Regions from separate parts of the Homo sapiens genome. Here region 1 is linked to region 2. Evidence: promoter capture Hi-C in human tissues and cell types (Jung and others, 2019). All regions are on one chromosome and are shown on one strand. The core of a region is centred on a gene start or on the middle of the fragment in contact, and the rest is flanking DNA. Distances in the headings are between cores, read along the strand shown.

Evidence for each region. Contacts are between HindIII fragments. The study calls those that stand out against the background at their distance.
Region 1: a contact is called between the fragment with the promoter of CYP27A1 here and the fragment with the promoter of TTLL4 in region 2, in 1 of the 25 tissues and cell types used here (psoas muscle).

What each region holds. Positions count from the first base shown.
Region 1 is chr2:218,779,565-218,784,373 of GRCh38, reverse strand. CYP27A1 (cytochrome P450 family 27 subfamily A member 1) reads right to left here and starts at 2,227. Exons shown (of 9, transcript NM_000784.4): 1 at 1,937-2,227. The coding sequence starts at 2,191. The HindIII fragment of the contact is 16,207 bases long and covers 1-4,809 here.
Region 2 is chr2:218,708,821-218,713,984 of GRCh38, reverse strand. It overlaps TTLL4 (tubulin tyrosine ligase like 4), which reads right to left and starts at 3,150. Exons shown (of 20, transcript NM_014640.5): 1 at 2,948-3,150. LOC124907983 (a long non-coding RNA gene) reads left to right here and starts at 2,501. Exons shown (of 2, transcript XR_007088089.1): 1 at 2,501-2,765; 2 at 3,899-4,383. RefSeq lists silencers at 2,759-2,808, 2,819-2,868 and an enhancer at 3,249-3,348. The HindIII fragment of the contact is 14,281 bases long and covers 1-5,164 here.

The DNA.
Region 1 (4,809 bases), core at 978-3,477, 71 kb before region 2:
ATCAGAGAAACAAAGGTTACAGCAGCCTGCTTATGTGACTTGAGTGCCATAATCACATAATCACATTCCCTTAAGGCTCAAAATATTTTAAAGTTCCAACAGCTTAGGTTTTGAATTATTTATTTTCACATCCCCAAGTCTCACAAACATGAGCCCAACAGGGAAGATTGCAGGAGAGACAGCAGCCACCAGGACAGGGCAGAGGATGCAGCCCTGGTTGTAGTCAGTTTTGCCCTTCGTTGCCCTCAGAGTCATCTTCTCCCTCATCCTCAACCTCCATTCCAGTTTTCTCTGGAGTGTGGCTCAGATCTGCCTCTCCATCCTGGATCCTGCCACGCCTGAGCCTTCATCACCTTAGACCCTCTGCACCTCTCCTACTACACACACCACAGCCTGGACAGTGTTCCATGCAGGCCGTCTTCACCCCATGCTTGCTCAAGAGCTCACCATGGCCCCTCAGAGGAACCAGGGCCCTTATCTTGATCTTCAAGGCTGTCCTCAAAGGCCAGTCCTGTCCCCAGTCCCCACAGCTCCTCCTTACTTTTGACTCCTTCCCAGCACAGACACATGACCAGCAGATGGTTGGCTACCCCAGCCCAGGACCAGCCTACTCCTATCAGTCCCTGACAACCAAGTGTCCTTGTGGAGGCACCCCGAATCGAAGCCCCCTCCCTCTTCCCCAACCTTAGAACAGCTTCTCCCCCAGAGTTCTCTCTGTGAAGTTAACTTTTTGTTGCTTTATCTCTTTGTCCTCCATCTTCTTCAGAGGAGCATTTAAGCCCCATGAGGGCAGAAGCCTCATCTCACTGAATCCCAGTACTTGGAACCATGCCTAGAACATGGTAGGTGCATTCATATTTGTTGATAGTCATTAGGAAGATAGATCCTGTATGAACCCCTTTGGTTCATTCCCTAAATCCTCTCCAACATTGGTCAGTGTTGGGTTTTCCGGTCTCTGTCAGTGAGCAGTGAGCTGTTCATCCCTGCCTCATTTCTGTGTTCTGCTGTATAAAACTTTCTTATTAGACATTGGTTTTCTCCCCCAACACCACTAACCTGAACACAGACTACAGGCTGATTTCTTTTTTCTTTTTTTCTTTTTTTTTTTTTTTTTTTGAGACAGAGTTTCGCTCTTGTTGCCCAGACTGGAGTGCAATGGCGTAATCTTGGCTCACCACAACCTCTACCTCCCTGGTTCAAGCGATTCTCCTACCTCAGCCTCCCTAGTAGCTGGGATTACAGGCATGTGCCACCATGCCCGGCTAATGTTTGTATTTTTAGTAGAGATGGGGTTTCACCATGTTGGCCAGGCTGGTCTCAAACTCCTGACTTCAGGTAATCTGCCCACCTCAGCCTCCCAAGGTGCTGAGATTACAGGTGTGAGCCACTGCACCCGGCCTCAGACTGATTTCTTAATAACAAAAAGTACCTTTTCCTTACTGTCTGTGAGTTTGCTTCCACGATCTGAGATGCAGCATTGTGTTTTCCCCTAAGAGGAAATTTACCTTGCAAATAACCAAGAGGTTTCTATAATCCTCCTGAAGTTATTTCGTTTGGAAGAAGTCTGTGGTAGCCAATATCAGCCCAGAATTAGTGATTCCATAATATCCGTTAGCTTACACATTTGCCTCTGCCACTCTCTTCCCAAGACAGCTCCCTCCTCAACCTCTGCTCACTGTAAGTCCGGCGTCCAGATCCCCCCCTTACTGGTGCCGTCCTGATTTAAGCCCTTCCTCGTCCTGTTTATCTCAGCTCAAAGGGCTCTGTCTGCACTTTGCCCATTCTCCCTACTGATTTCCAGTTTATGACCATAGCCTCAGTGGGTCCCCAGCTGAGTTCCTGCAGCCTTCACTTTCTGTCCAACGTCTTCTCACCTCTAGCCTCTCTGTTCCGGTGCCCACTCCCATCCCCAGGACGCGATGCCCCCGCGGGTTACCTGTAACTGGTGCAGTTGCAGGGCATAGCCTTGAACGAACAGCTGAAAGAAGAAGCGCAGCTGTCCTAGACGTGGAATCTCCTCTAAGCTCCGTTGCCGCCGCCGGACACCAGGCCCGGCTCCGGGAGCTCCGGTGGCCTTGTCCGAGGGGAGGGCGGCAGGGATCGCGGCCTTGGCTCTGGCCCCGTGGGGGCAGAGGCCACGGCCGGCCCCTCGCAGCGCCCACCTCAGCCTCGCGCAGCCCAGCGCAGCCATGGGTTGTGCTCGCGCGCCTGCACCTTTGGGTCGAGTGCTGAGTCCCCGGACCCGCCCAGACAGCAGTGCAGGGCGGGTTCAAAGCCGGGCGCTGGGGAGGGCCGAGCAAAGGCCAGCTAGACCCCTTCCCGCTCGCTCCCTCGCTCCTCCCAGCGACGCGGGAGCTGCAGGAGAGGGACGCGGTGACTCGGGGATATCCACGGCGCCCCGACCAAGGCCTCCGCCACGACTCCTCACCCCGCGCCCCCGAGGCCTCTCAAATAACTTTTCGCTTGGTCTGAACTCTGGGCGGGGGTGCAGCGAGATTCTTTCGAAATCGGGAAGCCCCACACCGGGATAGGTCCTCGCCCGGTCGCGGTTCCCCACCCAAGGCGACCCTCGCGTCCTGGAGGGAACGGGAACCGGCCGTGGCTAAGCTGCCCTCGGCTTCTCCCAATGGCCTTCCGGATTGATCCCGGAGTCAGTTCGGAGCGAGGGGGGCCAGTCATCTGATCCCTGGAGGGGGGCCGCTGAACAAAGAAATCTAAATATTCGTGTTTTGTTGTTTTTTTTTTTAATTCAATTCTCCCTCCACGCACCTCCCTGCCGCGTCTGCCAAGGCAGGATATTTCAAACTGCAGGTTGAGACCAGATTTCGTAGATGATGGCCAGAATTATTTTTAATAAAATGGAAAGAGTAACATAGTACGGAAAACGTACAGCAAGAAGAAAAAAAAAGTATTGTCTTATGAATCCTATGTTTCATGTATATTCAAAGTATAGTTGTCAAAAAGTTTAAAAACATAACTCACGCAAGTATAAAATAAATACAGGGTCAAAGATCACATTCAAGCCAGGAATGAAGGACCCAGCAGGATGGTACAGCTGGTTCTAACAGCATTTGAAAAATTGGTGATTTACAGGCAGCCAGAGAAGAAAGGGCATATTAAGTTCAATTAGGCTGACAGCTGAGTTGCTAGGTGTGGCTTTCTACTTATTTATTCTAGGACTCCTAGTTTCTTGACTCTGTGACTGGATGTCTTTGATCAGTCTGGGGAGTTTCTCAGATATTATCTGTTCAAATATTGCTCCTCCCCATTTTTTTCTCCTTTCCCGGGACTTCAAACTGCTATATGTATGTTAGCTCTCCCTGTATCCTTCCTCTCTCTTATCCTGTCTTGTGTATTTTTGTTCCTTTGTGTCATATAGTTTGTTAATTCTCTCCTCCCCACTCCCCAGAGTCTCACCCTGTCGTCCAGGCTGGAGTGCAGTGGTGCAATCCTGGCTCGCTGCAACCTCCGCCTCCCGGTTCAAGCAATTCTCCGGTCTCAGCCTCCAGAGTAGCTGGAATTAGAGGTGCCCGCCACCACGCCCGGCTAATTTTTGTATTTTTAGTAGAGATAGGGTTTTGCCATGTTGGCCAGGCTGGTCTCAAACTCCTGACCTCAGATGATCTACCTACCTCGGCCTCCCAAAGTGCTGGAATTACAGGTGTGAGCCACAGCACCCAACCTAGACCATATTTTTCATTTGGTTTTTGGACAGGAAGGACAGGAGGCCATGCTTTAAAAACGTGGTGGCACACGTGATCCCAGCTACTTGGGGAGACTGAGGCAGGAGAATCGCTTGAACCCGGGAGGCGGAGATTGCAGTGAGCTGAGATTGTGCCATGCACTCCAACCTGGACAACAGAGTGAGACTCCATCTCAAAAAAAAAAAATTATATATATATATATATATATATGATCTAGTTCAAGACTTAGGAGCCATTAACGAGGTCATAATTCTCTTACATCCTATAGTGCCAAATCCTTATACTATACTTAACCAAATACCAGAAAACACCAATTAGTTCACAGTGTTAGATCATAAGAATGCTTTCTTTTGTATTCCTTTGCACTTCGACTCTCAGAACTTATTTCCTTTCAAGTAGACTAATCCTGAAACTACTATTACCCAATGGTACACCAGGACAATACTGCCTCATGACTTTAGGGATAGCCCTTGCTTGTTCAAAAATGCCTTGACACAAAAGTTAAGAAAGCCAGAGCTAAAAAGGAGAGCCACACTCCAGTATGTAAATAACATCTTTGTATACAGCCCCACTAAAGAAGACTCAAATAAAAATGCCATTCAAGTCCTAAACTTCCTTAAAAAAAATCAGTTCTCTCCATCCAAGCCCAAATTTCTCTACCAAAAGTGAAATACCTGTAGTATATTCTAAACTCAGGAAACTGGACCTTGTCCATCAAACAAAAGTTTACTTAGAAGTAAAACCTCTATAAACAACAACAACAACAAAAAAAAAACCTAAGAACTTTCCTGGGTATAGCAGGATTTTGCAGAATTGCTAAGCCATTGTATGAGGCCCTAACAGGGCCAAAACATAAGCCATTCAAATGATCAAAAAGCAGAAGGCTTTATCTTCTAGCTAAACAAAGGGGTTTACACAGTAATAAACCACACCTGTTCTTTATATTAACAACTCAGGATTAATTAGACTGCCAGCTCAAAAGATTTACCAACACGCGGCCGGGCATGGTGGCTCAAGCCTGTAATCCCAGCACTTTGGGAGGCCGAGGAGGGCGGATCACGAGGTCGGGAGATCGAGACCATCCTGGCTAACACGGTGAAACCCT
Region 2 (5,164 bases), core at 1,901-4,400:
ATCACCACCCACATGGTCACTGAAATCAGAAACTTACAATCATTCTACACTGCTCCTTGTCCCATTCTTCTACCTCTATTCTGCCACCAGGTTTTGTCAACACTACCATGGTTAACATCTCTCTAAACCCTCTCCATTTCCACTAGAGCAAACATAAAGCCTTCATCATCTCTAGCCTAGGCCACTATAATAGTTTTCTCATTGGCTCCCTGCCTCCAGTCTAAAATTCTTCCTATTCAACCAACATATTGACACTACAGTAATCTTAAATACAAATCTGACATGATTTTCCTGATAATTATCTTTCTGTGGTTTTCCTGGAACATATTCTTTACATGATTTTACTAATGTATCCCTGAAAGAATTTTTAAAACTATGTGTTCCTTACATATAAGGTAACGTCTAGGCCAGACACAGTAGTTCACTCCTGTAATCCCAGCACTTTGGGAAGCTGAGGCAGGAGGATCACTTGGGCCCAGGAATTTGAGACCAGCCTGGGCAACATAGAGAGACCCCCATCACTACTAAAAATTTTAAAAAATTAGCCAGATGGGTGGCGCATGCCTGTAGTCTCAGCTACTCAGGAGGGTGAGACAGGAGGATGGCTTGAACCCAGGAGTTGGAGTTTACAGTGAGCTATGATCACACCATGGCACTCCAGCCTGGATAACCTCCTGGGCTCAATACATCCTCCCACCTCAGCCTACAAATAGCTGGGACTATAAGAGCACGCTACCATGCTTGGCTAATTTTTACATATTTTTTTTTGTAGAGAAGAGGTTTCGCCATGTTGCCCAGGCTGGTCTCGAATTCCTGGGTCTCAAGCGATCAGCCTGCCTCAGGCTCCCAAAGTGTTGGATTTACAGGTGTGAGCCACAACACCCAGTCTTAAAATAGGTATTAACTATCTTACTGAGTAACACACACCTGAACTAAAAGAAATCTCTTTAAAAATTTTACGCAAGTTTTATCCAAATAACTTAAAAATTCCATTGTCCCAAAAGACATTCCCGTTACATTTAACTGTTGTGTTCTTTTCAGAATATCTTAACAAAGAATACAGTTTACACGAATGGGATTGTGTATTGGCAAGCCTTCTGGGTTGGGAGGTAACTTAAATCACTAAAGGAGGTGTTCCTGAAAATAAATATTTCCAAAGTAGTCCTTATTTGTATCTGAGGACATTTTTACACTCAGGCCAATACACCATATTAAAATTTGGGAAGTGTGAGGGATTTGCCACACACAGCCTCCTACCCTTTTTTTGTAAGGGAAGTTTTAGAAAAAGAGTTCATTGGGGCCGGGCGCGGTGGCTCACACCTGTAATCCCAACATTTTGGGAGGCCGAGGCGGGTGAATCACGAGGTCAGGAGTTTGAGACCAGCCTGGCCAAGATGGTGAAACCCCGTCTCTACTAAAAAATACAAAAAATTAACCGAGCGTGGCAGCATGCGCCTCTAATCCCAGCTACTCCGGAGAATGAGGTAGGAGAATCGCTTGAACCCAGGAGGTGGAAGTTGCAGTGAGCCAAGATCGTGCCATTGCACTCCAGCCTGGGTGACGGAGCAAGACTCTGTCTCAAAAAAAAAAAAAAAAGTTCACTGGGAAGCTGAGGATCTGGAAATGTATTCATGTTAAGCTAGACGTGCAAGTGTATCCCTTGGAAGTCTACAACCCTGATTACTCCAGCTTGAAAACCACTGCTCCAGGGATATAGTTCTAACTCAGCAAAACATCCAAGGCCCTTTGTGATCTAACCCCTATTAACTTCACTCTTTCTATTTGTTACTGGATGGCTCCCTCCAAATCTAGCCCAGGTCTGTCAAACTGTTTCCAGTTCTCTTTTCAGGACTTGCTGTCCCTTTCCTAAAGCCACTGTGTATCTGGAATGTCCTCCCACCTCTCTATTCGCAGAAAACACTTGATAATTTTTCAAGGATTGATTCAGTCCAATATAAGTAGCTGCTAACTTTCTGAGCACAAAGTGGGTGGTTTAAATGCAAACAGTGTCTCAGTATTCAGTGCAAGAAACAGAAGGATGGGATGGAACACTGTCCCAAAGGGTCCCCCAAATGCTAAATCAACAGGTGCTGCAGTTAAAGAATAGGTGATTTGTAGTATCTGAGAAAGCAAAGAAGATTTCATCAAGGAAGGATTAAAATATTTCCGAGATCCAGAATGGGAATGTGAAGACCAGGAGGAATGGCAATAATGTCGTTTTCTAAGTAAGTCCGGATTAAGTATTTCCTGTTCTATCACAGCACACACCACAGTATGGCAAATGCTCGTTTACTTGATTAATAATCTCCTAGACTGTAAATTCCGTGAAAACATGCTTGTCCTATTAGCCACTCTATCCCCTCAATCCCTCCCATTGTACCCAGGCTCATTAAATATTTGTCAATGTTTACTAAAAATTGTTTAGTGAATGATTAAATAAAGGAATTGATGAATGAAGAATTAAATTCCACAGGATCTCAGATCCTGTTTGAATCTGTGGAGTTTAGGAACGTATTCTTCTACAGATACTGAGGATGGAGAAGTGAAAAAGCAGATATCCATGTTAAATTCGGCCCTGGAGCCTGCGAGGAGCTTGGGCTCACACCCAGAGGGAATTTAAACCTCAGCGCGGCAGGACAGAGGAAGCTCGGAGGCCATAACTAGGGGATGAGGCAGTGTTCGGGCACCCGGAGGCGAGGCCGACTAAGTTCGCGGGGCGTGGCGGAGAGGAGAAGGGCTCCGAGGAGGCGCGAAGTCCCGGCCGGGTAGGAGGCCGCGGCTCCCTGGCCTCCCGGGGGATGAGAGGTGGCGGGAGGAAGCGGGGCTAGGGTGAGAGTGGCCGGAGGGCTGGGGACCCGCGCGAAAGGACTCAGGTAGAGGGAGGTCGGGAGCGTGGGACCGGCGGAGTGTCTGGGGTCGGCTCCCCTGGCTCCGCAGCCGCACTCACCTAGGGGATCCAGCTTCGCCCCGGCTCGGCACCGGCTCCACGCTACTTCCTCCCTCGGCCTGCTGGGCTACCCGGCAGCCTCAGGCGCCCCTAGCAACCACGCACCGCCACGCGTGACAAGCGCACTCGGCCGCCAGCGCCGCTGCCGCCTGCCACACACCGCGCGCGCCCCCAGCGGACAGACCGAGAGTCTGGAAGAAGAGGGCGGGAGGCAAGCGCGGGGAATCTCGGGGGTTCTGGGGCCTGTAGGGGCGGGTCGTCACCTGACTCGCGCACGCGCAGTCCCTTCAGTGCGGTGGGATCCGGCGAGCGGAATTCTGGGAGATGTAGTCCCGTGGTTAAAGCTCTGAAAGGCTCCATTCGGAGCATCCAGGACTCTCTCTTTCTACTCTAATTCCACCTACTCCCTATGGACTGTTTTCTTTTTTAGAGACAGAATCTCGCTCTGTCGCCCAGGCTGGAGTGCAGCGACGTGATCATAGCTCACTGCGAACTTGAACTCCTGCTCAAGCGATCCGCCCGCCCCCAGCCTTCCGAGTAGCTGGGACTACAGGCACGCCACCATGCTGGGCTATTTTTAAATTTTTTTTCTCAGGACAGGGTCTCACTATGTTACCCAGACTGGTCTTAAACTCTTGGCCTCAAGTGATCCTCCTGCATCAGCCTCCTGGTCGCTGGGATTACAACGGGAGCCCCCACGCCTGGCCTGGACTCTTTGGCCTTGCCTCAATTGAAAATCAAAGGGCCCAGGCTCAGTTGAAGGATTTCTAGAAAAAGCCTTTGAGTTTGACCGCAGGAAAGGGGAGATTGCCCGATTCACTCTGCCTCCCTCTAACCCATCCTTCCCTAACCCCAACCCACCCAGCGGGGCAAAATTAAAACCACCTGCCTGCTTTATGGGCTTCAAGTGTGAACGTTAGGAAATACTGACTCAATTCCTTATCTCGTTAGCTCCCCAGGCAAGCCAGATCGCGCTCCTGCCTCAGATGTCCGTAGACCTGAGAGATTTGGAGATCTAAGAAAGCTGGAAGATGAAAGGATCTTTCCTAGGCAATTGGCTACAGAAATAAAGGGGACAAAGATAAAACTAATCTGATGAAAACAGTCTGGACCAGAGGAAGGATCTCAATAAATAACTTATTTAGTCAACAGTCGTTGATGGATGCTAAAAGTATTAGATAATTTATGGGAGAATTTTACACTGAAGGATGTACACTGAAGATAACCTACATGTACTAATCAATCTTAGATCACGAAACATGGGACAGCTGAGCATTGTTTCTTGATGTGATGCAATTGAACAGAAATATTTATGAAGTATAGCGTATTTTTGTAAAAAAAAAAGTTGAGTGACTCTAATCAAGTTTTGGCTGTAATTTCCAGTTAACAAGAAATAAAGAGAAACAACTGTATAACACTACAAGAAAGCAATCAAACAAATCCAGAATGTGAGCCAATGTACAGAATAAATGACCTCTTCTTCCTTCAACAATTTTAGGGTATAAAAATGAGGAGAGATGTTTTAGATTATAAGAGATTTAAGAAATATATTCAAATGTTGGCCAGGTACAGTGGCTCACACTTGTAATCCCAACACTCTGAGGATCACTTGAGGTCAGGAGTTCAAGACCAGCCTGGGCAACATGGTGAAACCCCGTCTCCAACAAAAAATACAAAAATTAGCCAGGCATGGTGGTGCACACCTGTAGCCCCCAGCTACTCAGGAGGCTGAGACAGGAGAATCGCTTGAACCCAGGAGACAGAAGTTGCAGTGAGCCAAGATTGTGCCACTGCATTCCACCCTGGGCAACAGAGCAAGACTCCCTCTTGAGAAAAAAAAAAGAAATATATTCAAATGCAATGAGTGCAGCTTGTTTGGATCCTGATTCAAACAAACTGTAAAATGACATTTTTGAGACTGAGAAATAAAAATTTTAAGTACCACCCCAACCAACTTAATGGACCCCATCGTGGCTAAGGGGACACTAGAGCAACCTTAAAAACTGAGTTCCCGGCCGGGCGCAGTGGCTTACGCCTGTAATCCCAGCACTTTGAGAGGCCAAGGCGGGCGGATCACGAGGTCAGGAGATCGAGACCATCCTGGCTAACACGGTGAAACCCCACCTGTACTAAAAATACAAAAAATTAGCTAGGCGTGGTGACGGGCGCCTGTAGTCCCAGCTACTAGGGAGGCTGAGGCAGGAGAATGGCGTGAAC